Linked DNA regions of Homo sapiens: all the other regions are linked to region 2. Evidence: promoter capture Hi-C in human tissues and cell types (Jung and others, 2019). All regions are on one chromosome and are shown on one strand. Each heading gives the region's core, a stretch centred on a gene start or on the middle of the fragment in contact. The rest is flanking DNA. Distances are from core to core; before and after follow the strand shown.

Region 1 (2,858 bases), core at 27-2,526, 210 kb before region 2:
AGGTTCCACCACTAGCTTGTGCAGGGCGATGAGCTTCCCTACATTTCCTATCTTACAGTTTATTAAAGTACAGTATCCTCCTGCTTCCCCACATCATCTTCCTTTCCTTTTAATTGCCCACATAGGACATGCAATTCAGAGTGCCTCCTCCCCAGTTTCATACATTCACTATACTACCTATACTTCAAAATTTAAGTAACCATGGCTGCTGCTATCTTTAAAGCAGGATGCATACTAAAATGCTAAAATGCATAACCTTGGGGTGATGCTCGTTCATCCTCATACCCCGTCATCTTCTCCTTTCTTGCCTTCTCAGAGGCAAACCCTCTGTTTTTATTGTTAAGAGTTGGGTAGTAAGTGGTTGGAACAGCCACAATCATGGTTGTATTGACAATCCACCTTACTCAAGCAGCCAGCCTGGAATTTACTCTCTGGTAAAGTTATGTGCATAATCTTATTTCATACTCACAAACACCCTCTGCAGCAGGCACTTTTCTGATCTTCATTTTACACATGGGGAAACTGAGACTAAGAGAATAATAAGTGGTTGAGTGACTTGTCCAAGGGCACATATCTGCTAAGTGAACAGGTCCAGAACTTGAAGTGTCTGACTTACGGTATAAACTGTGCTACTTTCTCGTCCCCTGGAAGCGCTGAGCCTTCACACACTATCTATGGAAGAAAGTCTCATTGCCTCTCACATTTACATTGTGAGCTCCTCTAAACAGGAATCATCTGTCCAAGAGTTCTGTATATGTCCATAGCCCAGATACTGAAAATGTCTTAATTTGCTCTGTCTCCAACCCCCTTTCTCTCTCATCCCAATACATAATCATCAATGGTCTGGGATCTTTGAAATTTGTCACACAACCTCTGATTCAAAATACTTCCAGTCCTTTGGACCTCCTATAAAAGAGGTCTCCATCTGGAAAGGACTTTGTGTCATTTCTGTTTTTTCTCATCAAACATCCAGAGGACCCCTAGTGTAAGTAATGCCCTGAGTCAAGGGACTAAGTGTCTATGGGTATTGTCATGAAAGGAAGACCTTCCTGGACTACCTAGATAACACACTTTTCTCCCAATACCTTCTCTCTCATTCATAATTGACCTTTGGATTTATTTTCTGCCTTAGCTTCATACCTTTGAGGTCTCCACATATCTTCTCCGCAATTTTATTAACACCACCCAATAACAGGGTATTCAATGAGCAGAAGATGAAGAATCTTAGAAGAAATCCCAGCTTGGCAGACTTCATGGTGCAGCAAGCAGCAGGCAGGATAGTTGTGGTATCACCTGATGTTATATTTTGGGCTTGATACTTGAGACGGTTGAGCTCACCTACCCCAAGGGCCAGGACTGGACATTACTAGGTGTTGAGTTGAACAGTGAGTGCTTGGGTACCCAGCCATGAAGCTGAAGGCCCCAAACTGATTAGACCCTTGATAGTGAGTCCCATGTTCATCTAGAAGCAATAGAAACTTAAGGATCAGAGCTTCTGCATATATTTAATCATGAAGGGTAGAATCATCAGAGTGAGGAATTAAAAAGGGATTTCTTCCTTTCTCTTTTTGACCTTTTATGCACAGAAGAAACTAATCATGGCACAAGAGAAAGAGTGCAATAGCACTATAATAATAGTAACAGGGTTAGTTATAACCTAGAGTACTACTTAATTCCAGGTGCTATTTTTAAGTAATTTGTATATACTTTATCATCATATACACCCTATGAAGTAAGTACAGTTATTACCATCATTTAAGGATGAAATGGAGACAGAGATTAGGTTACATGTACAAGGTCACTCATTTATTATGTGGTAGAGACAAGATTTGAACTTGGCTTCAGAGTTTTTGTTCTTAGTCACACTACACTATGTTATCTAGGAACATGAGGACATCTTGGATCTGTTTTCTCCTAAAAGTTTTGAAGTTTTGGCTTACCTTTACACCCTAAAACCACCTGATGTTGATTTTTTGGTAAGGTATAACATAAGGATCCTTTTTCATTTTTCAGTGGTTCCAGACCTATTTATTAATGAGTTCCTCTTCTATTTAACTGCAAAATAATTTTGCTTAATTATGTGGGATTGCTTCTGAGCCCTTTATTTCACTCCACTGTATACCCCCACTCCAAAGCCACACTTAATCTCTTGAACTTTGTTTATCTTAGGATTTTGTATTTTCATATAAATTTTAGTCAGTTTATCAAGTTATTCAAAAGACCTGTTTCGGGCCAGGCGTGGTGGCTCATGCCTGTAATCCCAGCACTTTGGGAGGCTGAGGTGGGTGAATCCCATGAGGTCAGGAGTTGGAGACCAGCCTGGTCAACATGGCAAAACCCCGTCTCTACTAAAAATACAAAAATTAGCTGGTTATGGTGGTGAGTTCCTGTAATCTCAGCTACTTGGGAGGCTGCGGCATGAGAATTGCTTGAACTGGGAGGCAGAGGTTGTAGTGAGCTGAGACTGTGCCATTGCACTCCAGCCTGGGTGACAGAGCAAGACTCTGACCGAAAACGAAAACAAAAACAAAAACAAAAACAAAACACCTATTTTGGATATTCATTTGAATTGCACTGGATCTACAAATCAATTGGAAAAGAATGATATCCTTATAATATTGTCTTTGATATATATATTTCCATCTATTTTGACCTTCATTAATATTTTAAAGAAAGGTTTATGACATTTCTCATGCAGGTGTTACAATCTTATTTATATTTTTAATATTATTGTAAATGCTATCTTTTAAAAAAATCTTCAACTTTTATTTTAATTTCAGCGGTACATGTGCAGGATGTGCAGGTTTGTTACATACATAAACCATGTGTGCCATGGTGATTTGCTGCACAGATCATCC
Region 2 (2,717 bases), core at 111-2,610:
AGAGAAAATTTCTCTCTCTCTCTATATATATATACACACATATATTTCAAAACATCATATTGTACCTCATAAATATATAATGTTTCTCAACTTATGATGAGATTATAGCCTAATAAACCTAGCCTAAGTTGAAGATATCAGAAGTTGAAATGCATTTAATACACCTAACCTACCAAACATCATAGCTTAGCCTTACCTACCTTAAACTTGCTCAGAACACTTATACTAGTCTACAGTTGGGCAAAATCATCTAACACAAAGCCCCTTTTATAATGAAGTGTTGAATATCTAATGTAATTTATTGAATACTGTTCTAAAAGTGAACACAGAATGGTTGTATGGGTATTCCAAGTACTGTTTTTACTGACTGTGCATTGTGTTTGCACCATCATAAAGTCAAACACTGTAAGTCAAACCATTGTAAATTGGGGACTGCCTTTATACAATTTTTATTTCTCAATTAAAAATAAATAATAATAAATATATGATAGAATGCTTCTTGAAAAAGAATAGCTGGACCCATCACAACCTCAAATTTTAAATCTGAGGCTCACTAAATCTCCCTAAAGCATGCTGGCTTTGTCTTTCAAAAAAAATGGATCTCTAGAGAGTCAAGGAAAGGAGACAGTTGGAATGTGCTGGATTCTGGGGGTGTGTCTCTAGAGACCATGACCCTCTGAAGCAAACAAAGCTGGGCCCTCCTTCTACATGGTGCTTTTGATATTTCTATTAAAATATAATGAATCTGCTCCTCCTCCAAGTAGGTGACTGTTTCTGACTTCCAATGTGTTTGTGTGTGTTGTTGCCATAATTTCCTGGGAGCACCCAGATGGGATGGAGGCAGCATCTAATACTTTGCCTGGTGCAGTGTGGGTACTTGATGAATGTTTGTTGAATGAATGAGTGATACGAGGGCACTGAAGCAGACAGACCGGGGTCTCAGTCTTGTCTCTGAAACTTGCTGTCCATGTAACAATGGTCAAAGTAGCATAACCTCCTCTCATCTACAAAATGGGAGTGTTAGTGTTGTGGGATTCCCGTGTAGACTTAAGGGAAGCAATGTGTGAAAACTATTTTGCATGGTGCCTGGAAAAGGAAAGGTACTCAAAAATGGCTGCTGTCTTTTTATTATTGTGAAAAAGGCTTCCACCCTGAAGTGGTACTAAAGTAGCCTGGGTGGCCAGATCAGATAAGGCCAGGAGGAGAGAGGTGAAGCTGTGCTTTGGCTGAACACTCTGTTCCTGAGGCAGCCCAGCCCCATGAAAAGCCTGAGTTAAAGGTGAATGAGCTGGATGTGGGGCCAGGCTCCTCCCCTTGGTCCCTTTTCTCCCTAAAATGGCAACCCCAGGCTGAGCCACTGGCTGAGTGGCACCATGCAGCTTCAGGCCTCTCTCTCGTTTCTCCTGATTCTCACTCTCTGCCTAGAGCTTCGATCAGAACTAGCACGAGGTTGGTATGAAATGTGGGATCTCAAAGAATAGACTGGGAATCAGGCTGGGGGGCGGGGTGGTGGGGGAGGTGATGCAGCACAAACAGAGCCCATTTCTTACCTTACCGGATTGAGAGTCAATTCAGTTCAATTCACTTCATCAGACATATGTTGGGCACATAGTTATGTGCCAGGCACTGTCCTAGGTGCTGAGGTTAAAGCAAAGAGCCTGAGACCCTGCCTTTGTGAAATTAAGATGCTAATGGGAGAGAGACATACAATACCTAATACAAATGATAGATGATCAAAGTGCTATAGAAAATGAAATAAGTAAAGCAGGAAAAGGGGCCTTCAATGTCTGGGGTGGGGCTGGTGGCAGGCAAGGAGAGGTTGGGAAAAGGAGATCAGAGCCAGAATTTGAGAGTGAGGGACTTAGCCAAGTTAGATGCACTTGTCAGAAAAGGCTCCTTCCTGGACCACTTTCTCTGTGGAAGCTTGGAATCTGCAAATGGAAGTGGGGAGATGAAGTGCAGTTATAGCTAAGATAATCTGCTGGAAATGGGGATGGTAGGCAGCAGTTTCCAAGATTTTTAAGCAGCCAGTAGGATGCCCTGTATAAAAATGCATATTAGAATACACAAAAGGGTAAGAAAGAAGGTGAAAAATTATCAAAATCTTACCCTCTGGAGATTATCACTGTCAATGTGCCAGTGAACATTCTTGCATGTGCAAGCATAGTTCTCTGCATGTATGTACATGGAGCTATTAATGATAGATTCTTAGACATAAATGGAACTCTAAACCTCCCAATAACCTTATAGATGAGTGGTTCTCGAGTTTGTCCCCTAGTCTGACAGCAATAGCAGCAGCAGTATCAACTGGAAACATGCTAGTTCCCAGTCCCACCTGATCAGAAACTGTGGAGGTGGGTCTCTCTAACAAGCCTTCTAGATGATTCTGACGCATACTCAAGTTTGAAAATGTCTGCCATAAGTAAGAAGAATGTAGTGGTTTACAGTATGAGCATTCCTGGAGTCAGACACACCTGGGTTCTGGTCCAGGCTCCTCTACTTACAAACTCTGTGCCTCAGGAACATCATTTATAGCCTCTCTGAGCATCAGTTTCTTCTTCTATAAAAAAAGATTAACCATCTTTTCTGCTTTATTAATCAAATAGTCTGATGTATGTCAAGCTCTCAGTATAACTTAGCTCTTAATAGATTCTTGTAAAGCACTTAGAACAGCTTCTGTCACACTCAAAACACACACACAGGGTGTCATTATCTAC
Region 3 (2,765 bases), core at 123-2,622, 200 kb after region 2:
TTTCTCTTTCTTTTCTTTCTTTCTTTCTTTTTCTTTCTCTCTCTCTCTTTCTCTCTTCTTCCTTCCTTCCTTCCTTTCTTCCTTTTTTTTTTTTTGAGACTGAATCTCGCTCTGTCGCCCAGGCTGGAGTGCAATGGCCTGATCTTGGCTCATTGCAACCTCCGCCTCCCGGGTTCAAATGATTCTCCTGCCTCAGGCGCCCGGGTAGCTGGGATTACAGGTGCCAGCCACCACGCCCAAATAATTTTTTTGTATTTTTAGTAGAGACAGGGTTTCACCATGTTGGCCAGGCTGGTCTCAAACTCCTGGCCTCGTGATCCTCCTGCCTCAGCCTCCCAAAGTATTGTGACTACAGGCATGAGCCATTGGCCCGGCCTGGGATAGCTGATTTCTAAGGGTCTTTTTTCTTGGGATTCCAGAATTTTTTTTTTTTTAACATTGTGCAATTCTATGCTCTAATAATCTACAATTTTAATATTCTTTGGGAAGGAATATTCTTGGGGAAGGAATAATACTTGCTATTTTCCACATATTATAATTCTATCTCGTAACATTCTATGATAATATTCTTTTGGGAGTACTACTGCTTAACGATAATTATTATTTTCCACATTCTATAATTTTCCACATTCTGTGTCTTTATCTGTGCTTCGAATAGTCTTTGCTCATTAATTCTCTGCTCTCTATTACCTATCATGATTTTTATTTACATCCTACAATTTTATATCCCAATTTATTTACTTACTTTTTTTGAGATGGAGTCTTGCTCTTGTCACCCAGGCTGGAGTGCAATGGTGTGATCCTGGCTCACTGCAACCTCCACCTCTCAGGTTCAAGCAATTCTCCTGCCTCAGCCTCCTGAGTAGCTGAGATTACAGGCGCCCACTGCCATGCCCAGCTAATTTTTGTATTTTTAGTAGAGATGGGATTTCACCATGTTGGCCAGTCTAGTCTCGAACTCCTGACCTCAGGTGTTCTGCCCACCTCAGCCTCGCAAAGTGCTGGGATTACAGGCATGAGCCACCGCACCTGGCTATATCCCAATATTTTATGACTCTAAAATTCTTTGGGAAGGAATATTGCTTCATACTATTACTTATTACTATTTTTCTACATCCTATGATTCTGTCCTGGGAGTCTATGATTTTAATGTTCCATGGGAGGCTGCTCAGGAAGTAGCAACCATGGTGAGGGTGATGATCTTACATTCTGTGGTTCTCTGCATTCTCCCTTTCCAGGACACTTGGTGCTGGTATTCTCTGCTTCTTACCTGAAATTGCACCACCTTCTCTGTGGCAAGGCATAAGTAGGTGCCACCCCCTCCTGGGGGACTGCCTGGAAACTGGAATGCACACTTGTGCAGCTGGGAGATGGGCTCATCCACATCAAGGAGCGCACACTGTTTTGCTACTTTACGGATGATCTGCAATGGAAGGATGGTAAGAACAGTGGTGGCAAGGAGCCCGGGCGTCCAGAGGCTGCCCTCCTAGCCGGCTGTCTGCTACTCCAATAGCCACACAGGCACTAGCAGATTCCCCCTGCCCTTTGACTTCTGTCTGGTCCTACGCGACACTGGGTGAGAACAGGTGTCTCCATGCCTTGGGGCCTCACTCTCCAGCCCTGCCCGTGTGTGCCACATTCTCTGCATGGATCTGAGGGGACCCCTCCAGGCATGCCCTCCCTTCCTATACCATGGGAGGTAGTGTGATGCCGGTGACCGTGCAGACGAGCTGCACCAGGGAGCCATAGCGAACGTAGCCCTCTCGCGGTGGGAAGTCTCCTTGGGCAGAGTGCCCATCAGCTGGGGGACAAAAAAAGCAAGGGACAAGGTTTTCAGCGGCCCCCAAGCTTCTGCCTTAAACCCTGCCTTGTTGCCTCTGGCTCTTCCTCACATCACACATGGGCCCTGCGGGAAAGCTTGGTACTCAGGGGAGCCAACTGAAGGTTCTAATTCTGGAGAGGCCATTTGAGGCCATCCTCACAAATGTCTGCCCTGGGGGCAGGGGTTGGGGGCAGGCAGCTTAGTTGATATATGGGGAAAGGGCATGGATAAGGGAGTCAGAATAGCTTGGAACAGTCACCAGCTCACTGGGACTGTAGTCAAGTCTTTTTGTGTTTCTGAGCCTTAATCACATGGGGCAGAGTTTACCTTCCTTAAGGAGTTGTGGTGGAGGTTAAATAAGCTAATGCATGTGAAGTGCCCAGCTCCAGGGCCTGCAGATGTCATTACCCAGGTGGAGCGTGAAGGCAGCCCACTGTCGTGCACTGGCCACAAAGGCCCCATCCTCCACAGAGAGGTAGCGTGTGGAGACCGTCTGAGAGCGCAGGCGGTTGAAGAGGGAGACCTTTGAGCCGGAGGATATGCACACTGTGAGGGTGAGGGTCAGGGTTAGGGTGAGGGTGAGGGTCAGGGTTAGGGTGAGGGGATAGGGTTAGGGTTAGGATTGGGGTTAGGGTTAGGGTGAGGGTTAGGGTGAGGGTGAGGGTTAGGATTAGGGTGAGGGTTAGAGTGAGGGTGAGGGTAAGGATTAGGATTAGGGTGAGGGTTAGGGTGAGGGAGGGGGTCAGGGTGAGGGTTAAGGTTAGTTGGTGCTATCAGTGCCCTGTCCTGGCTTGGTTCCTTGGACTTTCCAGACAGTTTCCAATCTTCTGTCCCTGTGCCGGCCTGGCTAATGTGCCCACAGGCCTAGATACACTGGGCATTCCCAGTTCACAGCTGTTTTTCCAGGACCTGCTGCAGTCCTGCTTTGGAACCTTTGCCTGTT
Region 4 (2,950 bases), core at 407-2,906, 160 kb before region 2:
ACTGCACTCTAAAACTCCCAGCTTTAGGAGCAGAGAGGACTATGCATATGAGAATCTCTCTAGACAACAGACAAGAGTGGTAGGTTTATACAGGTGCACACGTATTTCTGGGGGTTTCAAACTCTTGGAGTGGTACAGAAAAGGGGCTTAAAAATGCAGCTCCCTGTTACTCCCTGTAAGGGGTTTATGCCATGCATTGAGTGGCCCAACTTTTACAGCAGCTACCACCTGAAACTATGCATACTCAAGTCTTCCCAGATCACATACAAAAAGGTTTTTTTGTTTGTTTGTTTGTTTTTTAAACAGAGTCTCACTCTGCCACCCAGACTGGAGTGCAATGGCATAATCTTGGCTCACTGCAACCTCCACCTCCCGGGTTCAAGCGGTTCTCCTGTCTCAGCCTCCCAAGTAGCTGGGACTACAGGCATGCACCACCACATCTGGCTAATGTTCTGTATTTTTAGTGGAGACAGCGTTTCACCATGTTGGCCAGGCTGGTCTTGAACTCCTGACCTCAAGTGACCCACCCACTTCAGCCTCCCAAAGTACTGGGATTACAGGCTGAGCCATTGCACCCAGCCAAAAAGGTGGTTTTAAATGGACATAATAACACTGCCAGGGTCTACATCTCCTGGGAGCAGTGTAGAAAAGGGACTAGAATGCTGAGCTCCCATTTTCTCTTTGCAAGGGGTTTCCTGCTTACTCTATTGGTGGCTACTTGATGACCTTGCTTTTAATGAATTTGCATTGAGGACCTAAGGGGAGAAAGTAGCTCCCTGTCATCCTGAGCTTGAGCTGAGCACTTTCTGAGCCTTTCCTTTGGCTCATCCCAGTGATAAATCCAGTCGACCCATTCTTCCTGGAAGGAGTTTGTCCGTGTACTGAGTACCTAAGCTTCTATAGTTTCCACCCAAGGGACTGTCTCCTTATCAACCTAGCTCTGGGGACTAATGGGGCTTTGCATTCCCAATGAGACTTTGCATTCCTAAGCGGCCTGGGACTACAGAAAACAAAGACATGGGCATACAACGGGCCCACTTTCAGCATGTATTAGTCCATTCTCTCATTGCTATAAATAAATACTCAAGATTGCATAATTTATAAAGAAAAGAGGTTTAATTGGCTCATGGTTCTATGGGCTATACAGGAAGCATGGCACTATCTGCTTCTGAGGAGGCCTCAGGAGCTTTTACTCATGGCAGAAGACAAAGCCAGAGCAGGCATCTTCACATGGCTGGAGGAGGAGCGGGGTGAGGGATGTACTATATACTTTTAAACAACCACATCTCACTCACTATCATGAGAACAGCACCAAAGAGATGATGTTAAACCATTCATGAAGGATTTACCCCCGTGATCCAATCACCTCTCACCAGGTCCACCGCCAACATTGGGGATTACAACTTGACATGAGATTTGGATGGGGACACAGATTCTAACCATATCAAGCAGCTATCTCACCAGGATCAGAGGGTGCAGTTTGGACACAAGTATAGGCATTTGTCACAGATTATCTCTCCAGCTTAGTGCAGAGAGAGGGAGAGATAAATACTGGCATTCACCTTCACCATAGGATGGAAGAAACCAGAATACTCACCACCCTCCCCCTGCCATACATGCAAAAAGACAGAGAAAGTTTTAAAAACAGTGAGGAAATAGTGAATTGCTACACACAAGAGAACCCTCCCTTAGATTATCAGCAGATTTCTCAGCAGAAACTTTGTAGGCCAGAAGGGGGTGGGATGTTATATTAAAAATCCTGAATAAAACAACCCTGTCAACCAAGAATACTATACCCAGAAATCTTTTCTTTCAAAAATGAAGGGGTGATAAAGACTTTCTCAGACAAACAGAAGCTGAGAGAGTTTATTACTACTAGACTTGCCTTACAAGAAGTGCTAAAGAGAGTTCTTCAAGCTGAAGAAGAGGACACTAATTAGTGACTGGAAAACATATGAAAGTATAACATTCACTGATAAAAGTAAATACATTGTGAAATCCAAAATACTCTGATACTGTAATGTCAGTGGGTAAATAAATTATATCTTTAATAACATTAAAAGGCAAAGCTATTAAAAACAATGAAACCTACAATAATTTGTCAAGGGATACAAATTATAAAAAGATGCAGATTGTGATATCAAAAACTTAAGACAAATTTTCTCTTCTCTGAGGCTAGCTTGACTTCTCTTTGTTCTGCGTTCCACTGTTACCTAAAGAGTGTCCTTAGTGCCTGCCTCACAGCCCAGCACAAGGATATGAGCTGCAGAGAGTGACAATACAAGAAAGGCTACTCTGTGGATATGTCTCTGGTGCAAGAGCTGGTTTGCCCTGTCCTGGAGAATTTTCCCAGGATGGGGAAAGCCATGTGCTTCTTAATCCATCCCTGATACCTCAGGACTAAACTGGGAAGTGATGTCAGCAAGATGGCAGAATAGATCTCCTGGGATCACTTCCTGACACAAAAATAAAATGAAAAACTATTCAAAGACAAGAATGCCACCCTGAATACACCAGAACTTGAGAAGCAGAGAAACCCCCTGGGCTCATAGAATTGAGAGAAGCAGTGACAGGTAAGAGAAATGGTCATTTCAGCCTGTTCCACCCTCTCTCCCAGGCCATAATAATACCACTCACAGAGAACTTCCCTAGACCCACAGTTGCTGAGATGAGAAGAAGGAATTGGAGGTGGATATTTGATCTTCCCACTTGTCTAGGAATCTTAATGGTAAGTCCACTCCAGTTTCATCCCACTAGAGAACCAAGAGGGCTGAAAAACCTGGGGTGAATTGGGGACAAAGAGTAGGTCACTGATTGCAGCAACTGGCATGTGGATCTTGGTGATTGTTCAGTGCTTTGATCAGTGGGGATGCCATATTGAAGAGACTGGTGGGGGGGCCAGAGTATTGTAGGGGACAAAATTTATGGGAAGGCCCAAATCCACAAAGCC

What was found. Contacts are between HindIII fragments. The study calls those that stand out against the background at their distance.
Region 1: the fragment with the promoter of SPINT4 here is called in contact with the fragment with the promoter of SPINT3 in region 2 in 2 of the 25 tissues and cell types used here (bladder and stomach).
Region 3: a contact is called between a fragment that was not itself captured here and the fragment with the promoter of SPINT3 in region 2, in 4 of the 25 tissues and cell types used here (bladder, heart left ventricle, mesendoderm cells and 1 more).
Region 4: a contact is called between a fragment that was not itself captured here and the fragment with the promoter of SPINT3 in region 2, in 7 of the 25 tissues and cell types used here (adrenal gland, dorsolateral prefrontal cortex, mesenchymal stem cells and 4 more).

Annotation. Positions count from the first base shown.
Region 1 is chr20:45,720,765-45,723,622 of GRCh38, reverse strand. It overlaps SPINT4 (serine peptidase inhibitor, Kunitz type 4), which reads right to left and starts at 1,276. Exons shown (of 3, transcript NM_178455.3): 1 at 1,141-1,276. The coding sequence starts at 1,255. The HindIII fragment of the contact is 7,531 bases long and covers 1-2,858 here.
Region 2 is chr20:45,514,265-45,516,981 of GRCh38, reverse strand. SPINT3 (serine peptidase inhibitor, Kunitz type 3) reads left to right here and starts at 1,360. Exons shown (of 2, transcript NM_006652.2): 1 at 1,360-1,449. The coding sequence starts at 1,374. The region is part of intron 1 of LOC107987282 (a long non-coding RNA gene); the gene reads right to left. The HindIII fragment of the contact is 13,872 bases long and covers 1-2,717 here.
Region 3 is chr20:45,313,071-45,315,835 of GRCh38, reverse strand. It overlaps RBPJL (recombination signal binding protein for immunoglobulin kappa J region like), which reads right to left. Exons shown (of 12, transcript NM_014276.4): 7 at 2,231-2,368; 8 at 1,692-1,801; 9 at 1,271-1,423. Among named protein-coding and RNA genes, the nearest start is that of MATN4, 6.2 kb to the right of the region's middle. The HindIII fragment of the contact is 3,231 bases long and covers 1-2,765 here.
Region 4 is chr20:45,678,660-45,681,609 of GRCh38, reverse strand. No RefSeq gene overlaps it. Among named protein-coding and RNA genes, the nearest start is that of WFDC11, 9.9 kb to the right of the region's middle. The HindIII fragment of the contact is 5,827 bases long and covers 1-2,950 here.